Linked DNA regions of Homo sapiens: regions 2 and 3 are each linked to region 1. The links are contacts of gene promoters, found by promoter capture Hi-C in blood cells and fetal thymus (Javierre and others, 2016). All regions are on one chromosome and are shown on one strand. The core of a region is centred on a gene start or on the middle of the fragment in contact, and the rest is flanking DNA. Distances in the headings are between cores, read along the strand shown.

What was found. The method cuts DNA at HindIII sites, captures the fragments that hold promoters and counts their contacts. A CHiCAGO score of 5 or more calls a contact.
Region 2: a fragment that was not itself captured here is called in contact with the fragment with the promoter of CPO in region 1 in 1 of 17 cell types (total B cells); the score reaches 5.0 in total B cells.
Region 3: a contact is called between a fragment that was not itself captured here and the fragment with the promoter of CPO in region 1, in 6 of 17 cell types (neutrophils, total CD4 T cells, naive CD4 T cells and 3 more). The highest score is 6.9, in neutrophils.

Annotation. Positions count from the first base shown.
Region 1 is chr2:206,937,994-206,940,905 of GRCh38, forward strand. CPO (carboxypeptidase O) reads left to right here and starts at 1,525. Exons shown (of 9, transcript NM_173077.3): 1 at 1,525-1,674. The coding sequence starts at 1,607. The HindIII fragment of the contact is 5,939 bases long and covers 1-2,912 here.
Region 2 is chr2:207,440,454-207,443,365 of GRCh38, forward strand. No RefSeq gene overlaps it. Among named protein-coding and RNA genes, the nearest start is that of CREB1, 88 kb to the right of the region's middle. The HindIII fragment of the contact is 9,014 bases long and covers 1-2,912 here.
Region 3 is chr2:207,397,514-207,400,425 of GRCh38, forward strand. No RefSeq gene overlaps it. Among named protein-coding and RNA genes, the nearest start is that of MIR1302-4, 130 kb to the left of the region's middle. The HindIII fragment of the contact is 4,854 bases long and covers 1-2,912 here.

The DNA.
Region 1 (2,912 bases), core at 275-2,774:
GCTGGATTCTTCTCTTCTACCAAGTCCTCTAAATGTTAGGTCAGCCCAGGTCTCAGTCTTTGTCTTTCTCTGTCTATACCCACACCCTAGATGAACTCCTCTAGCCCAGTGGCTTTAAACACCATCGTGATATTGTGATACAATAGGAAATACATATTTTGTCTTTGTCCCTGGTTCCTGACACAGAGCTCCTAAAACCCTTGGAATTTCCTCAGTGATAAGATCAATAAAGGTGAAAGGGCCATTTTTGTTATTCATGACGTCCCTTTTGACTATGTCTAAGTTTAAGTGAACAGGTAACTTTTGGAAAGTTTCTAAGGATAGCGGCTGGTTGCCAGGAGAATCAGCCATGTTATTCAGTAATCCCCTCCCATCTCTGGGGAGGAAAGAGGGACTGGAGATTTATTTAATCACCAATGACCAATGATATGATCAATCATACCTATGTAATGAAGTCTTCATAAAAACACAAGGGAACAGAGTTTGGAGAGCCTCTGGGTTGCTAAACACATGGAGGGACTGGGTGGATGGCATGCCTGGAGACAGCATGGAAGCGCTTATCTCCTCTAGTTTTTTAACTGCATTCTCTTTACTTGAAACTGTAACATTTGTTTGTATACTCGTTTATTTTTCTCTCAACTCTACTGTGAGTTCCATAAAAGAAGGGACTCTGCCTTGTTCACCCTTGTATCTTAAGTATCTAGCATAGTGTCTGGTATACAGTGGTACTCATGAGATTTTTGTAGAATGAATACATGAATACAGGGCAGAAGATTTAAACTGGGTCCCTAAATGCCAAGGACTCCATTTAAATACTCTACCTGCTCTGCGCTAAAGTTTGCCTTGCTCAGTTAGACTATTAGCAATGGTCTTAACATGAGTCTTTAATTTTACTGGTCAATGAGATTCAAGCATAACTTGGCTATGTCTGAAAACATGGCGGAGTATCTGACAGAGTCCTTCATGTAAGAGGGGCGTGGGGTAAAATCCACATGGGAAAGGATTGAAACTGTCTTCACTGCTCAGATTTGAAGAGATCTGGGTTTGTTTAAGAAGCTGGTGATGTGGTTCATCAGAAAAAGAGAAGGCATTTGACCCCAATCAAAGCCTTAGATTGAAGGAGGAAGTGGAGATTCTGAATAATGACCATGTCCATTTTGACCAGAGCAGAGTGTTCTTTCTGGTCTCATGAACAGGCTCATGATTCACAAAGACTAGCCTACTATTCCCATTCAACCTGTGTGAGGGGAAGAGCAGGAATGATTGCTCCTGAGCACGAGTGATGGGGGTTCCTAGAAATACTCCAAGGTGACTTTACATAGGGAGGAAATTTATTTCAGGATCTGGTGAAGTTGAGAGCTCACGTAAATTTGGTTTTAGAGAAGAAATGAAATATCAAATGGTACAGCATTTCCCACACTGGAAAAGGTGTTTGAGGACATGAGAGAGTTAATAAAGCAATTGCCCGTGACTTTCTGCTGAGACATCCACTAACTGATTTATCTCATCTTGATTGTGGGAGCCACAGTCTTGATGCATTCATTCTCAAGGACACTTGATCCACTGCCAGAGAGGCCCAGAATTTTCTAACTTACTGTGTGGCAGAATGAAGCCTCTGCTTGAAACCCTTTATCTTTTGGGGATGCTGGTTCCTGGAGGGCTGGGATATGATAGGTGAGTGTAAAGTGGGAAGAGGAACTGATTATTATAATTTAGATTGTCTAAATTGAATGGTTTCTTTTTAAGACCAATGCAGCTGGCTTCTCCTTCCTTGCTACTCATATATACCACCATGAGATGAGAATAATAAAGACCACTGAAATTTATCACTGAATAATCATAATCCTCTAATAATCCTTGAATAAATGAATAAATATCTAGCAAACATTTCCTAACACAATGCATGAGATATACAAATAGACATGTCATGTTTTGTGATTGGAAAAAGAAAATTGTAATACAAATTCTATATCCTTCATTTTCATAGTATCTCATTTGGTAAATCACATTATCCTAATTATTAAGAAAAATGTTAAAATGACCAAATAATTTCACCTAGAGATAAGTACTATTAATGTTTTCAGATAGCTACCTGATTATGTATGCAGCACTATTTCTGAAATATTTCACTTAAATTGTATTACAGAAATTTTCCTATGGCATTAGCAATTTATTTAAAACAGTTGAAATTGCTAATAATATTCTGTCATTTAGTCAATTCCTGCTTTTTCATTTTTACAAATAATGCTGTGATGAGCAACCAGCTACATAATTTTTTTTGCTTTTTGCAAATCTTTAATTATTTCTCTAAGAAGTGGAATTACTGGGTCAGTAACTGAGGAAAATGTAAGGATCTTGCTACACATTGCCCAATTACCCTCTAGAAAGATTACATCAGTCTACACTTCCAATAACAGTGTATGAAAGCACTTTTTAAGTGTTTGGCAAATTGACAAGTAAAAAATACACATTGTTGACTTCCTTTGTATTTTGTTGATTTATAAGAGTAAATATTTTATTACTAATTTTATCATTTTATAAATTGCCCATTAATGTCATTTGCCCATTTTTGTGGTCTCTCCCTACTCTTAATGAATCATAAGTTCTCTAAATACATTCTATTGAAATCTGTGTGTGTGTATGTGTGTGTGTATAGTTTCCATATAAAGTGTGTTTTTCCCTTGTTCATATGCAAATCATTATTTTGCTCATTTAGCATATCTCATGAAGTATATGTGGTTATAATTGGTATTTCCTCTTTTGCTTCATGGTTAAAGAAATCTTGCAATGAACTTGCTCTCACATAACATAGAAACCCACTCCAATTTTTGTCCCACAATAATTGTGTGACCTCAGCTTGTTCCTTATCTTCAGTTCAATTTCAGATACTTACAGAGTCCAGGATCTCTGTG
Region 2 (2,912 bases), core at 279-2,778, 500 kb after region 1:
AATAAATTGAAGTAACATTAAGTAAATAAATGAATACATAAACTAACTTAAAGGAAATGAACAAAAATGTCAGTGTATTAGGCCAATGGTCTAATTATAGATTATAATAATTATGTATTATGTAATTATATTTATAGATTACAGATAATAGATTTTATATATATATTTTTTTGTTTTGTTTTGTTTTGTTTTGTTTTTGAGACGGAGTCTTGCTCTGTCGCCCAGGCTGGAGTGCAGTGGCACAATCTCGGCTCACTGCAAGCTCCGCTTCCCGGGTTCACACCATTCTCCTGCCTCAGCCTCCTGAGTAGCTGGTACTACAGGCGCCTGCACCACACTCGGCTAAGTTTTTGTATTTTTAGTAGAGACAGGGTTTCACCGTGTTAGCCAGGACAGTCTCGATCTCCTGACCTCATGATCCGCCCATCTCAGCCTCCTAAAGTGCTAGGATTACAGGCGTGAGCCACCGCGCCCGGCCTTTTTTTTTTTTTTTTTTTGAGACAGGGTCCTGCTCTGTTGCTCAGGCTGGAGTGCAGTGGCACAATCATGGCTCATTGCAACCCCGACCTCCAGGCTCAAGTGATTTTACCACCTCAGCCTCCTTAGTAGCTGGAACTATAGGCACATACCATCATGCCTGGCTAATTTTTTTAATTTTTTGTAGAGACAGGATTTCGCCTTGTTGCCTAGGCTGGTCTCAAACTCCTGGCTTCAAGTGATCCTCCCAACTTGGCCTCCAAAAATGCTGAGATTATAGGCATGAGCCACCACGCTTGGCCAATTTATATATTTATAATTTAGATTTTATATTTATACTGTAATTAGTATATTAACTTACACTTACATCTGATATATATTTTTAATATCTATCGAGTCAATTATTTGCATTCTCTTTCCTAGTACCTTCCTGACATCAAGTTCCCTGAGACGTGAATTTTAACCAGAATGCTATTTGAATTTTAATCAGAATCATAGAGTAAAAATTGCTCTGGGAGACTGTTTTATAGAAACTCTAGAAAAACCCAGTGAAATATGCCTACTCCACAACTGTATATGCTGTTCTAATGACCAGATAATGGAATCCCCAAATACAGTAGCCTTTTACCATTAAAAGCATGAGTTGTTTTGGAACAGAGAGAGTGACGAGAAGCAAAATTGATAAGCTGTATGGGATAGGCAGAATCGCCCTCCAAAGATGTCCAAGCCCTCATCCCTGGAATCTGTGAAATATGTTACTTTGCATATCACAGTGGACTCTGCAGATGTAATTAAGGTTACTGACATGGTTATCCAGGTGGCCCTAATCTAATTAAATGAACCCTTAGGAGGAGTGAATCATATTTCTGTTGTATACCTGTGCTGAAGTTCAGTACATGCTACCCCAAAATATGGTACCTTGGCATTTGAGAAAACAACAGAAGCAGGAAGGTCATTCTCACCTTGACATTGCCTCTTCTCCCCTAAAGTAGGCTATAAAACCTAGCTGAGGCCAGGCGTGGTAACTCACGCCTGTAATCCCAGTACTTTGGGAGGCGGAGGTGGATGGATCACCTGAGGTCAGGAGTTCAAAACCAGCCTGGCCAACATGGTGAAAACTCATCTCTACTAAAAATACAAAAAAAATTAACTGGGGCGTGGTGGCACATGCCTGTAATCCCAGCTACTTGGGAGGCTGAGGCAGGAGAATCGCTTGAACCTGGGAGGCGGAGGTTGCAGTGAGCCAAGATCACGCCATTGCACTCCAGCCTGGGCAACAAGAGCGAAACTCTGCCAAAGAAAAAAAAAAAAGACACCTCGCTGAACTTCCCCTGAAATAGATCATAAAACCTTCTTTCCACCCTATACCTGGAAGAAAGGAACATCTTTATCGCTGAAGAGACAGGGAAGAATCTGAACAAACAGGCCTTGCTAAGTCCCCTCAGTTTATTACCATTAGCTCATAGCCTCTTTGTCTAATCATACTTTTCCATGACTATCCTTTTCTTCCTTAAACTTAACATAGAAATACATGGGTTTCCCTGTCTCTTTGGATCTTTATTTCTGAAGGCTCCTATGTGATGTAAAACTTCTATTAAATAAATGTCTGTGCTTTTCCCTTATTAATCTGCCTTTATTATAAGAGCCCTAGCTGTGAACCTAGCAGGGGGTGAGAAAAGAAATCTCCTCTACACCTGTTTATATTTTCTACATTTCAACATTGAATATTTACTTCTTACATATATAGTTACATAATTAGGACAATTGTTCTTAATTTATATGAAAAGAAAAAAACAAAATAGAAAATAACTCCCAAGACTGTAGGACCTGAGAATAGAGCAGGCTGCTTGGAGATGGGCAGAGGAAGACATGGCAGAAACTTCAGTTGTTAGGATTATTTAGAACTATTGTTGTTAGGACTATTTAGATTACAAGTGAAAAAAACCAGCCTGGATCACGTGTCCATCCCTGGCCCAATTATAGTCACCAGCAGAGTGATGCACCAATTGTGGGTGGAAGAGCCACCCAACCAACAGAGAGTGTGAGAGAGGAGGCCCAAGGGAAGTGGGAGAGGCTGTTAACAGAAGAAGGGGGTGAAGAAATGCTCACTCGCCAAAAAAGGCTCCATTACAATATCTCCAAACCTAACAGAAAGAGAGAAATGGTCAAGGGGCATGAGAGGAGGGGGCATAACCAATGATAGGAAGAAGAGTAAAGAGAAGACCATCATAAGCTCAGTTTTTATTTATTTATTTATTTTTGAGATGGAGTCTTGCTCTGTCGCCCATGCTGGAGTACAGTGGGACGATCTCAGCTCATTGCAACCTCTGCCTCCCAGGTTCAAGTGATTCTCCTGCCTCAGCCTCCCAAGTAGCTGGTATTACAGGCACCTGCCACCATGCCCAGGTAATTTTTGTATTTTTAGTAGAGGCAGG
Region 3 (2,912 bases), core at 258-2,757, 460 kb after region 1:
TCAACACAACCCCTTGCATTGGAGAGACCAGCATCTTAGTCCACTAGGAAATGATCTTAGGAGATGGAGCAAGAAAGAGTCCTTGAGAGAACCTGGACTGCCCTCCAAGATAATAACTGTCCCTGGAGAATAAATGAGCTGAAAAGACAATAGAGTGAGTCAACTGCACCTCTATCAGCCCAAGGCAGGATGAAGATTTTCTGGGCCATGTGATGCCACTAGGGGTACCCATTCTAGGGGCCTCTTGACAGGAATCAGGATCAGGGACCCCCCAGCAAAGGAAAGTTCAGTGGAGTATATGAATGGAGCAAAGAACTGAGAGGGTGTCACAAGAGGTCAGCCAGAGAACACACTCCCCTATGCAGGACAGAGTCCCCTGTGTCGGGGGTTCTGGTGGGGAGGGTCCCCAATTACCTACAAAATACACCAACTAAAGAAATTCGGCAATGGGGCATTTGCCACACAGGGAACTCTGACACCGTTGTATGAGTAGCAGCCAAATTAGAAACTCGGTCACCGTCTACCCCTCCTCCCTTTTTGACAGCCCAACTCTGTAAGAGTCTGAGAGCAACCTGCTGATGTGGGGCTGAGAATGAAAGAGCCAAGTGGAGAACCAAAAAAGGGAATCAGGCCATGCTTCGTTGCCTGTCTACAGCCCTGAGGAGTCACATTTCCTCTGAGAGACCCTGGGACAAAGTGGAGAAGGGGGTGTGTTGGGGAAGGAGCTTCCATTAAATGGAAGATTTAAGTTTTTACATTAGATTGGGTTGTGCTATTTTATTTTATACTTGAAAATGAGCCTGTTTGTTAACACGTTGAAATTGACTGAAAGACTGTGCGGTTTGTGCAAGTTGTCACCAAGGAGGCAAAGAAAGGAAATCTGATCAAGTATAATAATTAAGGCCAGACGTGGAAGAAGGATAAAAGTTGTTTCTTAGTTAAACTCCACCCTCAATAAACCAGTTAGAGTTGTAGTAATGAAAAGCCACCGGTGAGATGCTGAGTTAAGATAGGAATACAGTCATGTCACAGCTCATACATCCAAAATTCCTTTCCAGTCAAAATCCAGCTACAGTGTATCTGTAACTAGGTGAAATGAGTTTATAAGAGGCCTGAGAATGTTTTCTAAACAATTTACATATGAATTTAACAAATAAATTTGAGGAATTTTTTAAGGGAAAGCAAATTAATGCAAATGAAACTAAGACCAGAAAGCTGATATTACTAGGGAAGCATATTTATTAGGCATCTTCAATGTGCTAAGTGGTATTTAGAGGCATAAGAAGAATTAGAAGATATGGCTCCTATTCTTGGAACCAGCTGGATGAAATAAATCCATGCTTAGAAGAAAAAAAAAAACACTAGAGAAAAGAATAATAAAGCAAAGTACATACAATCAACTGCTATAATAAGGGTAAGAGGATATACTGCTGTACAGAAATGCACACACATGAAGGTGGAAGCATGGTGAAGAGGATTTGTATAAATGACAAAAGGGGAAATAGACCATCCAGAAAGACAGACGATATTGAAAATTCTTTCTTGATGCAGATTACAAAGTTCGGATAGAGATGATCCATGGTAGTCAATGGAGATTTCCATTATATGGGCATCTGTCGGCAGTCTCATTATAGAAGAAAAATGAGTGCCTAAGAAATCAAGTAGCTTTGCTGTGAATTTTACTGCTGGGAAGGATACCATGGGGAAATGGTTAACAGGATTTTTTTTTTCTAGCCAGAAGAGTCCGTTGATAATCTTAACCAGTCAGGAGGCTTCAGGGAAACTGATGGTGATATTTTGGACTTCTAAATATAGAATGAATTAGAAATAACCTGGACTTTAGGAAAATAAGTGTACCTAAAGCTATGTTAATGAAATAATAAAGACTGAAATGCAACCCAATTAGAGAAACTATGGAGAATTTAGTTGGCAAAAGGATTTCTTTGAATTCAAATTTGAGCAGAACAGAGACCCTTTGTTTGAAACGTCAGCAGGCCCTTTGTTCTCCCCAGTGACATATGGCTTTAAAGTCTAGCTTAGCTTTAAGTCAATCACTTAATCTGGGTTTCTCTGTGAACTACCTTTAAGACTCCAGAAAGACATTTCGAGGTGCATGGGTGAGTTGAGTGGTATAAATAGTGCCCCATTTGAGGAGAGAAGCCTTTCTGCCTTATTCCTAGATGGTTGGTCTTTGCATAATAACTCTGCTACCTACTTTTTGCCACTTGTGAATTTCCTGTTCATAGAGGACATTAGGAGAAATTGTCTCATGTTTGGGGTGTACCAAAACATTTGAACGAGAGGAAAAGAACTGTGAACATTGGGGAAGGCTGCTCAAGTTAGATTTTTGTCATAGTGCACATTAAGTTGTGCTGACCCAGATATTCCAATTTCAACTGTTTCCCACATCCACTAGAAAATCTTAGTATCAGCAAGCATGTGGCCTGGCGAGCTGGGAGTATTAACTTGTGGTCTGACCAGGATTCTTCGTCATTTTAGCACAGCCTTGGCCATGGTTAGCAAGGCGGTTCTAACCTTGTTATTCTAATTATTCTCTCACTTTGGGTGTGATTCCTGTTAGTCCTTCCACTTAAAACAGATGGAAGAGTGACCTGTACATTGGGAAAGGTCATCTGTGTCTTGATTTTTTTTATCTGGAAGTTTTCACTTATAAAGATGTTGTAATTATAATTATTATGATTATTTTGTACTTAAATTGGGCAGTGCTGAGATCTAAAACAAACTCTAGGTCTGATTATTTTCTGAAGAAAATAACATTGTACCTCATATATACCATGGAATACTATGCAGCCATAAAAAGGAATGAGATCATGTCCTCTGCAGGGACATGGTTGGAGCTGGAAGGCATTATCCTCAGCAAGCTAACTCAGGAACAGAAAACCAAACACCAC